2 separate regions of the Homo sapiens genome follow, and region 2 is linked to region 1. The links are contacts of gene promoters, found by promoter capture Hi-C in blood cells and fetal thymus (Javierre and others, 2016). All regions are on one chromosome and are shown on one strand. The core of a region is centred on a gene start or on the middle of the fragment in contact, and the rest is flanking DNA. Distances in the headings are between cores, read along the strand shown. Region 1 holds the start of TMOD2 (tropomodulin 2). Region 2 has its middle 15 kb from the start of SCG3.

Region 1 (6,874 bases), core at 3,200-5,699:
TTATCTCCTTGCCTTCCACTTGGAGATCTGCGCCTTTCTGGGTTTTAACTGCCTGTTGCTTTTAACCATGTCCTTCCTCTTGCCTTTGGGAACTTATGGGCTTCTTCTAACTTCCTGATTGGCACCGGGTTTCCTGCTTTTTGTCCTTTGATTCATGTGCCCTCCTTTCTTCTGCTTGCTTATGTGGTCTTTGACTCACTCATCTTGTCTCTTTCTTTGGCATTTTATACCAGCTAGGTTTTGATCCAGGTTTTGTAATGACTTATGGATGCTGTATGCACCCTGACTTGTGAGTGCTTACCTAGATGATGTGCAAAACATTTAGCAACTGGTATAGAAGGGACACTGCCCAGTCAGAATGGTTGTTTATCAACAATGAGGACAGTTGTCCCCATGCACACCGCTTGAATAGCAGCCCAGCTCACTGGACTCCACACTCCTCTAACCACTCTGATGAGGGACCTCCTGGTCCTTTCTTAGGGCTTGTGCCCCAGCTTGTCTCCTTTCTCCTCATGTCCAGGCTTGGCATGGCTGGCCTTGTGCCCTATTTTGTGAGCTCCTGCCACTCACAGTCCTGGAGTTGACTTTCTCATCCCCACCCTACCTAGCTCTCACCAGGGGAACCTAGGAATAGTGATGACACATGTGAAAGAGGTAATTAGTGGGGCAGCCTTGATGCCAAAACAGGATGGCAAATCATAAAAGCAGAAATAGCAAGAAATCACAGCTTTAAGGAAGGTTGTGCTGAAACATGGGACCAAGGCCAAGGAACTCAAAATGGCTTTGGGAGGAAAGGTGGCTATTTCAGTCCATGGAAGAGCCATAGCAGAAGAGCGCATCTCATTTTACACAACCACGAAGCCTTAAAGTTACGTAGAATTGACTTTTTGGTGTGCTGAAAATAAAAATGGTTCATAGTATACAACAAAGGACTAAGCAGGAGAATTTATAGGAAGAAAGTTAGGAAATTTAGGATGAAAAAGTAGACTGGGGTCAAACTGTTATGATCCATTAAAACCAGAAACTGAAATTTGAATTCTAATCTGTAAGTAATGTGAAGCACAAATACTTACAACTTACACATTTAATCATATGTCCTGACCTTTCACTCAAAAATGCATTAAAGGCAGTTTCTCAAAGGTGGTTCCATGTAACGATAGCCCCTCAAGATATTTTTCATTTTTTATTTTTGCACACAGTTTGGGAAACATTACATATCACATCCTATGGACATTCCCACCCCATTTACATCCCCATATACAATGATCATTAACCCATGAAAGGCTCTGAAAAGTCAAGAATAAACCAACTTGTCCAGCTTTGTTTAGTGTTTTCCACATCTGGCTAGGCAATTTCTTTTTCTTGTAACCCATTAACATTCTATGTATTTTGGGGAATACTGACTGAGAGATTCACAAGTACACACAGACATTCATGCAAGTAAATATGTATACTTTAAATTAGTATTTTCATGTATACATAAACACATATAATCCAGGTAAAGCAAAAATATCTTTGCAGCAAGGGATTCCGTGTAAGAGATTAAGTGTTGTAAGAGTTGATTCTGTTTTCGTGGTCTGGTAACAGGAAGTCTCTTCTGCACATGCCTTCTATGAACCTCTTTGAACCACTTAAAGTCTATAAGGAAAACATTTGGTTGTATATGATTTACACACAAGGGAATGAGAGGAAACCCCAAAACTTCTATCCTATCACAAAGCTAAATCATTTTTCCCCCAACACTACCCTAACCCAAAATAAAATGAACCACTGCCTATGTTCTCAAACTTCCTTACACACTGACACAGATCTCGGACACAGAGAGGAAAGGGACAGCACTTTCGGGATGGTTCTTGGGTAGGGCTAGAATTTCTTAGGTATGGAGAATTACTAATACTTTGAAGTTGAAGCTAGAGGATGGGGTACTTAAGCATAAATGATTGAGAGTAGCCAAGATAAACCAAAAATGGGAACACCAACCCCCCGTCCCCCCCACTCACACCTCCAATAGGTGATTTCAATTTTGGGAAGGTGAAGCCAAGAAATTCCCCACAGATTCACTGCAGCTGTTTGTCACGAACCACCCCCGTCTTCTACAACACTTTCTCTTTATTCGCTTATTTATTTTATTGACTTCCCCATTTCTTAAAGTTCAAATCTATAGAAAAGTTAAAAGAATAGTACAATAAACATTTGTTTTCTTCTTGATTCACCAACCGTCATCATTCTGCCACATTTGCTACGTTCCTGAACTTGTTCTGCTACCCCTATCCTTTTTTTTTTTTTTCTGACACAGCTGAAAGTTGCAGATGTCATGACACTTCACCTCCAATATCCACATCTCCAAAGAATAAGGATTGTCTGGTCTAGGTAACCACAAGAATGAACTATTATTGCACCTAAGAAAATTAACACCAATTCCATAATATCATCTAACATGCAATCCATATTCAAACATCCCCAACTATCTCCAAATTGTCTTTTATAGCTTTTTTTTTTGCATCTAGGATTCAAAGTTCACACATCCCAATTCACTATTGTATCACTTGAGTATTTTAACCTACAATAGTTGCTCCCATTTGCTCTGCCCCATCGCCAAGTCTTTTTGCAGGAACACTACAGAGGTGAAATTATGCCTCCTTATTGCTTCACAACGGGAGACTCGCAGTAGATGCTGCTAAACTTGGTCATTTGGTTCCAGTGGTGACCTCCTAATTTCTCCATTGTAAGGACAAATTTTCCCAGAGTAAACTGTGGTGAGATACTTTGAAATAATATGAAAATCCTATTCCCCAACCACCTTTCACTCAAAGGTTTTGGACCAGTTGGTAAGTCCTTGCCTTATTCAACTGTTATGTTAGGTTTGCAGAGCGCCGAGTTCCTGATTCTCTCATTCCTTCTATTGCATATTTCTTTTTCAAACAATGATCCATCAGTACGCAACTTCTCTTTTCTGTGTATACACATTCTGGTTACTTCTTGCTGGGGCTTCCTCCCCGACCTCCATGCTGACCACATTTGACCACTCGTGCCCAGCCCTAGGGAGCCACTAATCCTTTATCTGCTGATCCCATCACTTCACCTTCAGCAAATTAAAGACAAAAACAAACCCCATCATTTTGTTGCCCACCAATGTACAGTACCTTACAAAAATTAAAATGATTGCAATGCGTATTTATTGGGTTAGACTGAAGAGAGTCGATCGAGAAAATCAGTTTTATCTTTAAAAAAAAATCAGATTGCTGAAGCTCTGAAAAATCTTTCCTCCTCACTAGGGTAGAGGCGCTTGTTGTCACAATTAGGCTTTTTGTAGTGCTGTTAAACAGAAACACTCTCATCTTTTCAGTTCCCTGAGAGGGGAGAATCTTGGAAGAACAGAGGTTTACAAATCATTTAGCCCAAACGCCCCTTTACATGCAGAGGCCCAGAGAGGTGGAGGGACTTGCCCAGGTCCCTCAGCTCCTGAATGGTCAAGCTAAGAGGAGAACCTGGTTTTTAAAACACCTCCCCCGATCTTCTTTTCATTCCCGTCCTAAATGCCTCGTGATTCAGATATGTAATGGGCACAGACGAAGCTGCAGTAAGCACGGCCTCCTTCACTGCTAATTTGCATTGTGACGGCATCACCTTCCTACCTCTGAATACTCTAAAAATTCCCATTAGAAGCCTTTTATTACTGTTTTAAAAATCCACCTTCATTTCCGCAGGTCAACAGGGAACATTTAGGAAGCCTCAAGGGAGCACATACTACAATTACTTTAACCAGAAAAGTAATAACAATAATAATAAGGTTCTCGAGGATCCGCACGAGGCCGCTTACTGGGAGGCTGAAACGCCCTGCGAGTGACAGCTCCAGCGATCTCAGGAAAGACGCCGGCCAGTCCACCCCTCCCCATCGCCTGCTGAACGAGGCAGGGAGATGCATACCGCTCCAGGAGCTCACCAAACATGCACAGGAAGGGGAAAAGTGGGGGAACAAAGCCCGGAGTGGAAGAACACAGCCCCGCAGCCCGGGAGGACAGGAGACCGCGCCCTCCCCGCTGCGGCCCAGCGGGCTGCAGAGGCTGCGGCACCGCAGTGCGGGGCGCGGGACTCACACCCCGGCGGGCGCCTCCCGCCCGGGCGCAGCGCCTGGTCTCCCGGCGCAGCCGACCGGGCCGGGAGGCGAGAGGCGAGAGGCGGCCCGGCTCTGCACGCCCGCCCGGCCGACCGCCCATGTCGCGGAGCATCCTCCCGCGGGCAGGGAGGGCACGGCGGCCACCGCGCTGCGGGCCCGGGGGCTGCAGACACCGGCTGTCCAGAACAGGCCCCACCCGCCCCCCGGGGCGCTCACCCGTCCGTGCGCTCATCCCGGAGCCGGCTGTGCTGGCCGTCAGTCCGTCAGCCCCGGTGGAGCGGGGCCGGGAGAACAGGGGCGGCGCCGTGGCCGGGGCGAGCGCGGCGATCAACAGGCGGCTCCCGGCCGGGCGCGGCGCCGGGGCGCGCGGCTGCAGCGGAGCAGGCTGGGAAGCGTAGTTCCCGGCTGAGCCTCGCCGCGGCCCCGCAGTCCCCCAGCCCCGCCCTTCCCCGACAGGTGTCCTCTCCCGGAATCGGGGTCTGAACCCCGCCACAGCTCTGCAGGGGAGGAAGCACCTGGGTCGGGGAGAAGCCTGGGCAGGCTCTTTGGAGACGCTCGGGGCTCCGGAGAGCGTGGATGGCAAAGGCTTTCAAGCCTGTGATGAGCATTCCTGTGAGCGAGCATCCTGACACGGAAGCCGCGTTGAGAGCGGTCTCAGGTACAGACCCCGCCCGCCCCAGGTTTTCCTGGCTGGGCGTGGGCGTGGGAGGAGAGAGTAGTTGGGTTGGCAGCCTAGGGAGGGAAGGAGGTAAGCGAGGTGGAAGTTAGCAAGGCTCTAGGGTGATGGCGTGAGGGGCTGGAGAGCCCAAGCGCAGTGGCGGCTTCACTGAGGTGAGACCGGACAACTTAGCCTGTCTGAGCCTTCGCGTCCTCATCTGTAAAACAGGCTTCAAGCTTGAAAAAGTGTTGTGAGGATTAAGCGACCCATAGCACTTAGGATCTGGCACTTAGTGCATACTCAGTGAAAGTTCCTTCCTTGGGGTTTCCGAGGGAGTTCTTGGGCCGGGAAAGTCCTATATGTCGTGCTAACCTAAAGATAGTTGGACCTCGTTGGGCTGGGTAAATGTTAAAATCCACTGGGTTTGTTAGTCGTTGAGCCCGTTCACTTCATCCCTGAATATACCCTGAGATGTTCTGTCTGCCAGGTTCTTGAGAGCTCCAAAGATAGAGAAAATAAAGTCAAGTTTCTGAAGCATGACAGCAGAGTGGGGTGACATAGGACAAAGACCAACATTATGAAAATACATGGCATCTAGATTTAACTTCCAGAGGCCTTTTCTAATTAGATGTGATATCTCTCTCCTTCTTGAACTTTTGCAGCATATTTTGAGCATAACCTTTGCTTATGGGACTTATCTTGGCAGTCTAAGGTTCGTTGAGTTTTGCAAGTTGCTGCTATGCAGTGTTTCACATGATGGTGGGATTTGCATTCACAGATGTAGTGGAGGAAAATGAACCAAAGGGATGGATGCAGCATGGCTGGTGTAATCTCTATATGAAATTTTAGGCAAAATGTGAAAAGAGGTGAAACAGCTTTATAGTCTGTCTGGCACGAGGTGTGCAGTAATCGTGTGGCCAAAAAAACGTGCTGCAGAGGAAATTCCACATCTGAAAATGATAACACTGGTTTGCATTTATGAAAATACTTTCCTATTTGTGTTCTCATTTGATTTTTACAAGAACCCTTGTGAGACAGGCAGAGTGAAGGTATTTTTCCCCAATGATAGTTAATAAGAGGCACAGAGAGGTGATGTGACTTATTCAAGGTCATAGGGGTGTTCAGTAAGCCTGTCTTCTCTCCTTCCACTGTGGGCACCCCCAGCACTGTCTCCCTTTTGCACATTGCAAAATAGGGCCATACCTTCCCCAGCAGATGGGTTGAACCAGAAAGTAAAGTTAATCCTCTAAAACTCTGGGAACTAGCATGATGAACACTGGCACGCAGTGGCTGCTGACTGAGAGACCAGTGTTGTTTCTATGATCAATTGTGGTAATGGACTATATCTTGGGCCTCCTGTCAGAATGACAAATCTGAGCCAGAAAGAGTTAAATGAAATGGGGGTGTGACCAAATTACTTTAAGTCATGTTCCCAAGTTTTCCTGTACATTTGTTATTCCGAATGTCCTGTGTAACCGACAGGATGCCTTTGACTTTTTTATGTTGTACATTTGTTACAGTCATAGCCTTCTGTTAAATAAGAACAGGGCTGCTTACGGATCGAGCCAGCAGTTTTCCCAGAGAAAGCTGATAGTAGGCATATGCTGAAAATAATAAAGCAATTTCATTCATATTGGAAGAAAGAGTAGCAAAGGTGCTCAGTAGTGTACAGTATTTCTCTTTGGTTTCCCGTGGTTCTGCACGAGGAAAATGGCTGCATGTGATAAAACGAATAGAGTATTCCTTCAGAAACTAGCCATGAAAGGAAGCAGACAGGGGAATGATTTAAGTTAAAGTCATGTTCGGCAGTCGAAGCAGAGATACAAGAGCTATCCTACAGCCCCAGAGCCATGCTCCAGGAGGATGCTGACACCAAAATAAAGTGAGTTGTGAAAAGAAACTTCTGATCAGTCTCTGTCTGTATGATGAGTGTTGGAAGCTGGAAGGTGTTAAAGGATGAGTGAGGGAAGTAGAACATTTAACCTAATGTTAAAACTTAATGGAAAGATATTACCAGTTCCAGTCTGTTTAGCTCTTTAAATCTATTGCCTATGTCTTATCTTAAGGAAGAAAGGATGTCAATATGCCTATGACTTATC
Region 2 (6,874 bases), core at 1,519-4,018, 84 kb after region 1:
GTAATCTCCGCTACTAGGGAGGCTGAGGTGATAGGATCACCTGAGTCTAGGGAGATCAAGGTTGCAGTGAGCCATGATTGTGTCACAGCATTCCAGCCTGGGCGGCAGAGTGAGACCCTGTCTAAAAGAAAACAAAAAAGAAAAAGAAAAATGAATGTATTCCTCACACCTTCATTGAAATAAATTGTATACAGATCAAACATGTAAAGTGAAAACATGAAAAAAAATGTGTGAATACTTTTACAGTCTTTTTGTTTGTGTGCTTTTTTGAGACAGGGTCTCACTCTGTTACCCAGGCTGGAGTGCAGTGACATGATTATGGCTCACTGTAGCCTTGATGTCTCAGGCTCAAGCAATCCTCCCATCTTAGCCTCTTGAGTAGCTGGGACTGCAGATGTGAGCCAACATGCCCAGCTAATTTTTTAATTTTTCGCAGAGACAGGGCATCCCTACATTAACCAGGCTTGTCTCAAACCCCTGGGCTCAAGAGATCTTCCTGACTTGGTCTCCCAAAGTGCTGGGATTACAGGCATAAGCCACTATGCTCAGCCTACTTTCATAATCTTGAGAAGAAAAACACTATCCTAAACATTACAGATAGAAAACATAAAGGGCTGGGTGCTGTGACTCATACCTGTAATCCCAGAACTTTAGAAGCCAAGGTGGGAGGATCACTCGAGGCCAGGACAATATAGCCTGGACAATAAGCCAGACCCTGTCTCTACAAAAAATAAATATATTAACAGGGCATGGTAGTGCATGCCTGTAGTCCTAGCTACTCCACAGAGGGTAAAGAGGGAGGATCCCTTGAGCTCGGAAGTTGAAACTGCAGTGAACTGTGATTATGTCACTGCACTCCTGTCTGGGAGATAGAGTAAGACCTTGCCTTAAAAGAAAGAAAGAAAGAAAGAAAAGTAAACATAAAGAAAAAGAATGATAAGATATCTAAAATTCATGTTTTAAAAAATTACAAAAGTGTTATAAGTTTGAAAAACCAGGAAAATACCTGCAAAACTTAATTTCCATAATATATAAAAAGCTCATATAAATCAACGATAAAATGGAAACACTCTAAAAGAAAAATAGGAAAAGGACACAAACAGAAATTCAAAAATAGGAAGAAAATTCATTAAGTTATAAAATGTTCATTTTACAATGAATATAAAATATCATTTTTGAATTTTCAAATTAGCAACAATTGAAAATATTGACAACACTAAATGTTGACCAGTATATTAGTTTCTTACTGCTTCTGAAACAAACTACCCCAAATTTAGGGGCTTAAGATGACAAAAATTTATTATCTTATGGTTTTGTAGGTCAGAATTCCAATACTTGTTTCACTGGGCTGAAATCAAGGCGTCGGAAAGGTTGCCTTCCTTCTGGAGACAGTAGGGGAGACTCTAAAGAAACTCCGTTTCCTTGCTTTTCCCAGCTCCCAGCAGCTGCCGCATTCATTGCTCATGGCCCCTTCCTCCATCTTCAAGGCCAGCGAGTTTGCTTCTCCCTCTGACCTTTCTTCAGTGGTCACATCTCCCTCTGACAACAGCCTGAAAAGGTTCTCTCCTTTAAGGACCCATGTGATTAGGCTGGGCCTACCCAGATAATCCAGGATAATCTTCTCATCATGAGGATGTGATCATCCTCATGACTTAATCACATCTGTAGAGTCCCTTTTGTCGTAGAAGGTAACATACAGGTTCCACATATTAAGACAAGAACATCTTTGGGGGTGGGATGAGGTGGAAGAAGATGTATAATTCGGCTTACCACAGCCAAGGTGAGGGAAAAAAAGGGACATTTCATTTAGTTTTCCTGATAAATCTTACTTTAAGAATGTGCTCTAAGGCAGAATAACCCAAATTGTGTTCTTCAGAACTTTATATAAATTTTCCTCTTAGGAACACAGGAATATTAGAAGATTCGCATTACACATTAGCATCATAAAGTTTATGAGGTCCACAATTTAAAAAACAAAACAAAAATAGTTTTTAACATTTCCTAAACTTCTTTAGCCATGGAATCTACTTTCTTGCATAACATTGGTTAACATTCAATTACTAAAAGTTATAATATAATTGAACTTTACATTCATATGTATAAATACAATACATACTATACATATATAATTATAACAAAGGGTTGTGTTCCTATTTTGTCTCCACAACTAGCTCAGTCTTTGAAAAGAACACTCAGAAAGAAATATTGCAAATAATAAATATGTGAGTGGTCAAAAACTTATGAAAAATAACACCCAATGAGTAATAAGAGAAGCACAATGTTTCAAAGGAAGAAACTATTAGTTTTCTTTCAAATTTAGGAAAGGTTTTTGAAAAGATAAATGCTAGATTTGGCAAGGATATGGAAGAACGTGTCCTTAAGTATATCGTTCTGGTGAGAGAGCAATTGGCATAAGCCTTTTGGAAAGCAGGTGGGTTATATAAATCAAAAGCCTAAAAATACATATGCCAGATGCCTGAGATGAAAAGATATGTACCCCTTGGTTTAGCAGTTTCATTTCTGAAGTGATCAGCGGTAGAAAAGAATGAGCTACTGCCACATGCAACAACAGGAATACATCTCGCACACATAATGACGAGTGAAAGAAGCCAGACACAAAAGAACACGTGTTTTTGTTTATATGAAGTTCAAGAATGGGCTAATTTATCTATGGTGGTAGAAGTCAGAATGGTGATTATTCTGGGTCTGGGGGTAAGTATTGGTAGGGAAGGGACATGAAGGAGCCTTCTAGGGTACTGGAAATAGTAAATATCTTGATCTGAGTGTAATTACATGGCTGTATACGTATTTAAAAATTCCTCAAGCTGTAATTAGGTCCTCTATTGTGTGTATATTATATCTGAATTTAAAAAAAACTAACATATATATATATATATATGAAGACCCAAGGCCATGTTTAAAGTGATCCTCGATTAGCAAAGTCAAGACAATTTTAGCATTAAAATAATGACTGTAGTGACTGAGGATATCTGAGAGTAATACTTTGGACAAATAAAAATCCATGAATCCATAATGGATACTCAAAAAAAACAAAAAACAAAAAAACGGTAGGGGCTGGGGAGTAATCCTTCTTCTTTACAGAAGAATGCAAGCTAACAAATCAGAAAAGAATTCTAGAACTAGAAAATCATCACTTTACAACCTCATATTACAAGAATTATCAATGACCGCTTAAACCATTAGGTGAAAAATGATTGGGGAACAGAGTAGTCACAAGATTTCAAAATATCACCCCACAGATTACTTGCTAATTGCAAACAGAAAATACGCCTTGCAACGGAGTGACTTAGTAGGCATCATTTTAATTTGGTGACCAAATTCAGCATCAGTCACTGGCATCAACTCAACATTATGTGCCTCTTGATGTGTTGTGAGGTTAAGTACACAAGCATCACTATCAGCTGTTATATGCTGCCTAAGATGCTAATTTCTCTGGTATGGAATAGAACCTGGACGCTGACGTTGGAAGTCTTCACAAGCTCCCCAGAAGAACTTAGTATGCAGTTAAATTAGAGACAGAACCATTAATTTAAATATTTGCAAGGTACATATTGAGTACCTCTATAAATTATTTTGTAATTGCATACTAGAGTCCTATTGAAATGAGCTGAGGGAAAAAACACAAGTGCGATGGAAGACTACCTTCCTGATTTTGGTAAGCAGCCAAGTAATCTTTTTCAAAGACCCTTTCCCTTCTTTTTGCACTATCATAAATTTTTAAAGAATATGTGTCTTTAAAATATGCCATAGTAAGAAATTACAAGTCAATGGGAAAAAAGGTTTCTACAGATCAAAGGTAGTTAAGTGCTACTTAAGGATATTTTGGCTGAGCGCAATGGCTTGCGCCTGTAATCCCGGCACTTTGGGAGCCCAAGGTGGGCGGATCACTTGAGGCCAGGAGTTCAAGACCAGCCTGGCTAACATGGTGAAACCCCCACTCTACTAAAAATACAAAAAATTAGCTGGGCGCGATGGCGGATCCCTGTCATCCCAGCTACTTGGTAGGCTGAGGCAGGAGAATCACTTAAACCCAGGAGCCGGAGGTTGCAGTGAGCAGAGATCGCACCACTACACTCCAGCCTGGGCAACAGTGCACAACTCTATCTCAAAAGAAAAAAAAACGATATTTGATATAATATTTTAATTTTAAAACTGTGTATTTTGAAAGTAGAATGGTGTTTGCCAGAGGATGATGGGAGGAGAAAATAGGGAGTTATTGTTTAATGGGTATGGAGTTTCAGTTTTACAAGATGAAAAGAGTTATGGAGATGGTTGGTGGTTATGGTTGCACAACATTATGAATGTATTTAATGCCACTGACCAGTGCACTTAAAAATTGGTGAAGATGATAAATTTTATGTTATATTTACTTTACCACAATTTTTAAAATTGGAAAAAATATGTATTTTTCCTCTCACTGCCCAATATAAACACTATCAGAAAAGAAGGTTTTCACTATTTAAATAATATTTGCCCTGACAGATTACTGCTAGTCATGAGGCAATGAATGGCAGGGTGCAATTTTACAATGCAAAAGTCAGGCTGTTACCACATATTGTATAATTCTATTTATATAAAATGTCCAGAATGGATAAATCTTATAGTGACAAAGAGTAGATTAGTGGTTGCTCAAGGCTGGGGGTGGTGGTGGTGGTAGTTGGGAAGTGGGGGTGATGCCTGCTAATGAGTATAGGGTTTCTTTCTGGGGTGTTGAAGATGTTCTGAAAATATTTACAGTGATGGTTACGCAGCACCGTGAATAGACTAGAAATCACCGAGCTATACACTTTAAATAGGTGAATTGCATGGTATATGAATTATATTTGAATAAGGCTGTTATTTTTTAAAGAAATCAGTCTGTCACTCCCTGAATCTAGGGATCAATCTTAACATCACAAATAGTGGAACAACCAGACATATGGGCATCCTGCTATAATGCAATTTAAAGTACCACTAAAATAGTCTTGCCAAAAAAAGTTTACTTGAATCTAATAAGTCCTTTAGATCTAAATTCCAGGGGCTAGAGGAATAAATCCTGCCTCCGTGAGGAAGCAATGAGACAACTCCAGAAGGTGGAAAATTCTACCAGACTGTTAATAGAAGAGACTACTTTTCTAGCCTCCTCAACAAGTCACTGTCATGGGAGGATAAGTGTGGACTGAAACTGTTCCAGATTGCACAAGACTTAAGAGATGTAACAAATGCAAATTGTGGGCTTTGATTGGATGCCATTTTGAACAAACCTCTAGAAAGAATATTTTTGTACAATTGGAAAATTCAGATATAGAATGGGTATTTTATGATATAAAAGGAATTATTGTTAATTTCATTAGGGATTGTTGTTACATGTTCTTAATTTTTAGAGATGCCTACTAAAATCTTTAGAGCATGAAAAAACATGATCTTTATGATTTACCTTAAGAAACATCAGAAAAAATATAGAGGAAGCAATTATGGCAAAATGTTAATCATTGTCAAGTTTAGATGAGTATATGGGGGTTAATTTTACTATTTCCTCTCCTTTCCGTAGGAAAATTCTCATTAAAAGAAAAACCTGTAAGGCCAGGAAATTGTAAAATCTGTAATAATAATCCAAAAGAATTATCCAAAGATTTCTCTAAAAGATGTTTGATTAAATACAGGAGTATAAGTACTTTTTGACAAAAATGAGGGCTATATAAAAGTACAGGTCGACCAGGCGTGGTGGCTCATGCCTGTAATCCCGGCACTTTGGGAGGCCAAGGAAGGCAGATCACTTGAGACCAGGAGTCTAAGACCAGCCTGGCCAACATGGGGAAACCCTGTCTCTTCTAAAAACACAAAAACTTGCTGGGTGTGGTGGCACATGCCTGTAATCCCAGCTACTCAGGAGGCTGAGGCACAATAATCACTTGAATCTGGGAGGCAAAGGTTGCAGTGAGCAGAGATCGTGCCACTGTACTCCAGCCTGGGTGACAGAGCAAGACTCTGTAAAAAAAAAAAAAAAGAAAGAAAGAAAAGACAACTCAAATGTTATAGAATTTTGTATTGCATTTCATTTCATAAAACATTATTCTTTCTAAAATGAAGGGAATTTAAAATACATATAACTAAATAATTTTTATACCAATGTATGTAAAACTTTTCATGCACATAAATTAACAAATCAGGAAAAACCTGTTATTACATTGTCATTTCTACATTGAGATTACAAAATAGGGCAATTTTAGCCATATATAAAATTTAGAAGTATTATATTCATAAAATCCCAACAGAGGTCAACAGACAACAGTAGGGAAAAAAGAACTTGTTCTAAATTTTCCGATATACTAATCTAGGGTTCCACAGTCCAGTTGCCTCTCTTGCCCTGTCCACTCAAAGATCTCTGTCTTATTTGTAATATTTATTATCATTCAGATAATCTGGGGAAGCAGAGGTCCATAGTCAGATTCTCTCAACAGGGTCAGCAGCAAATCATAATTGAATGGCTATTTTACCCTACTTCTGCTCAAGCCATTATTAGCCATACTCAAAACAGGTTTACTGTGAAGCTAGTGAAGCTTACTTAAGGTTGTACAAGCCCCTTCCAAGGCCCAGGGAAAAGCCCTAGCTAGTTCACATAGCCATATACTTTCACACAATTTTAAAAAGTAAATCTTTAAAACTCAATTAGTTCAGAACTCTGTACTCTAACTTCCCACCAAATTTCTCCCCATGTTGGATGTTGGGTGAATAGCCATAGGCATTTCTGGAAGTTAGATAAAGGAAAGTTAAGTTGGGATATATTGAGTTTAGTAGGATAATTTAAGTGTCTCATAGTCACTTCCATGTTGAGTTAGATTATTGCTAGTCTGGCTGATATAAGAATGGATTC

What was found. Contacts are between HindIII fragments. The CHiCAGO score rates a contact against its expected background, and 5 or more counts as called.
Region 2: a contact is called between a fragment that was not itself captured here and the fragment with the promoter of TMOD2 in region 1, in 6 of 17 cell types (M1 macrophages, neutrophils, M2 macrophages and 3 more). The highest score is 7.1, in M1 macrophages.

What each region holds. Positions count from the first base shown.
Region 1 is chr15:51,749,172-51,756,045 of GRCh38, reverse strand. TMOD2 (tropomodulin 2) reads right to left here and starts at 4,449. Exons shown (of 10, transcript NM_014548.4): 1 at 4,334-4,449. It also overlaps a transcript of LYSMD2 not described here. RefSeq lists silencers at 4,036-4,095, 4,126-4,235, 4,286-4,715 and an enhancer at 4,826-4,895. The HindIII fragment of the contact is 6,757 bases long and covers 1-5,013 here.
Region 2 is chr15:51,663,349-51,670,222 of GRCh38, reverse strand. No RefSeq gene overlaps it. Among named protein-coding and RNA genes, the nearest start is that of SCG3, 15 kb to the left of the region's middle. The HindIII fragment of the contact is 7,589 bases long and covers 1-6,562 here.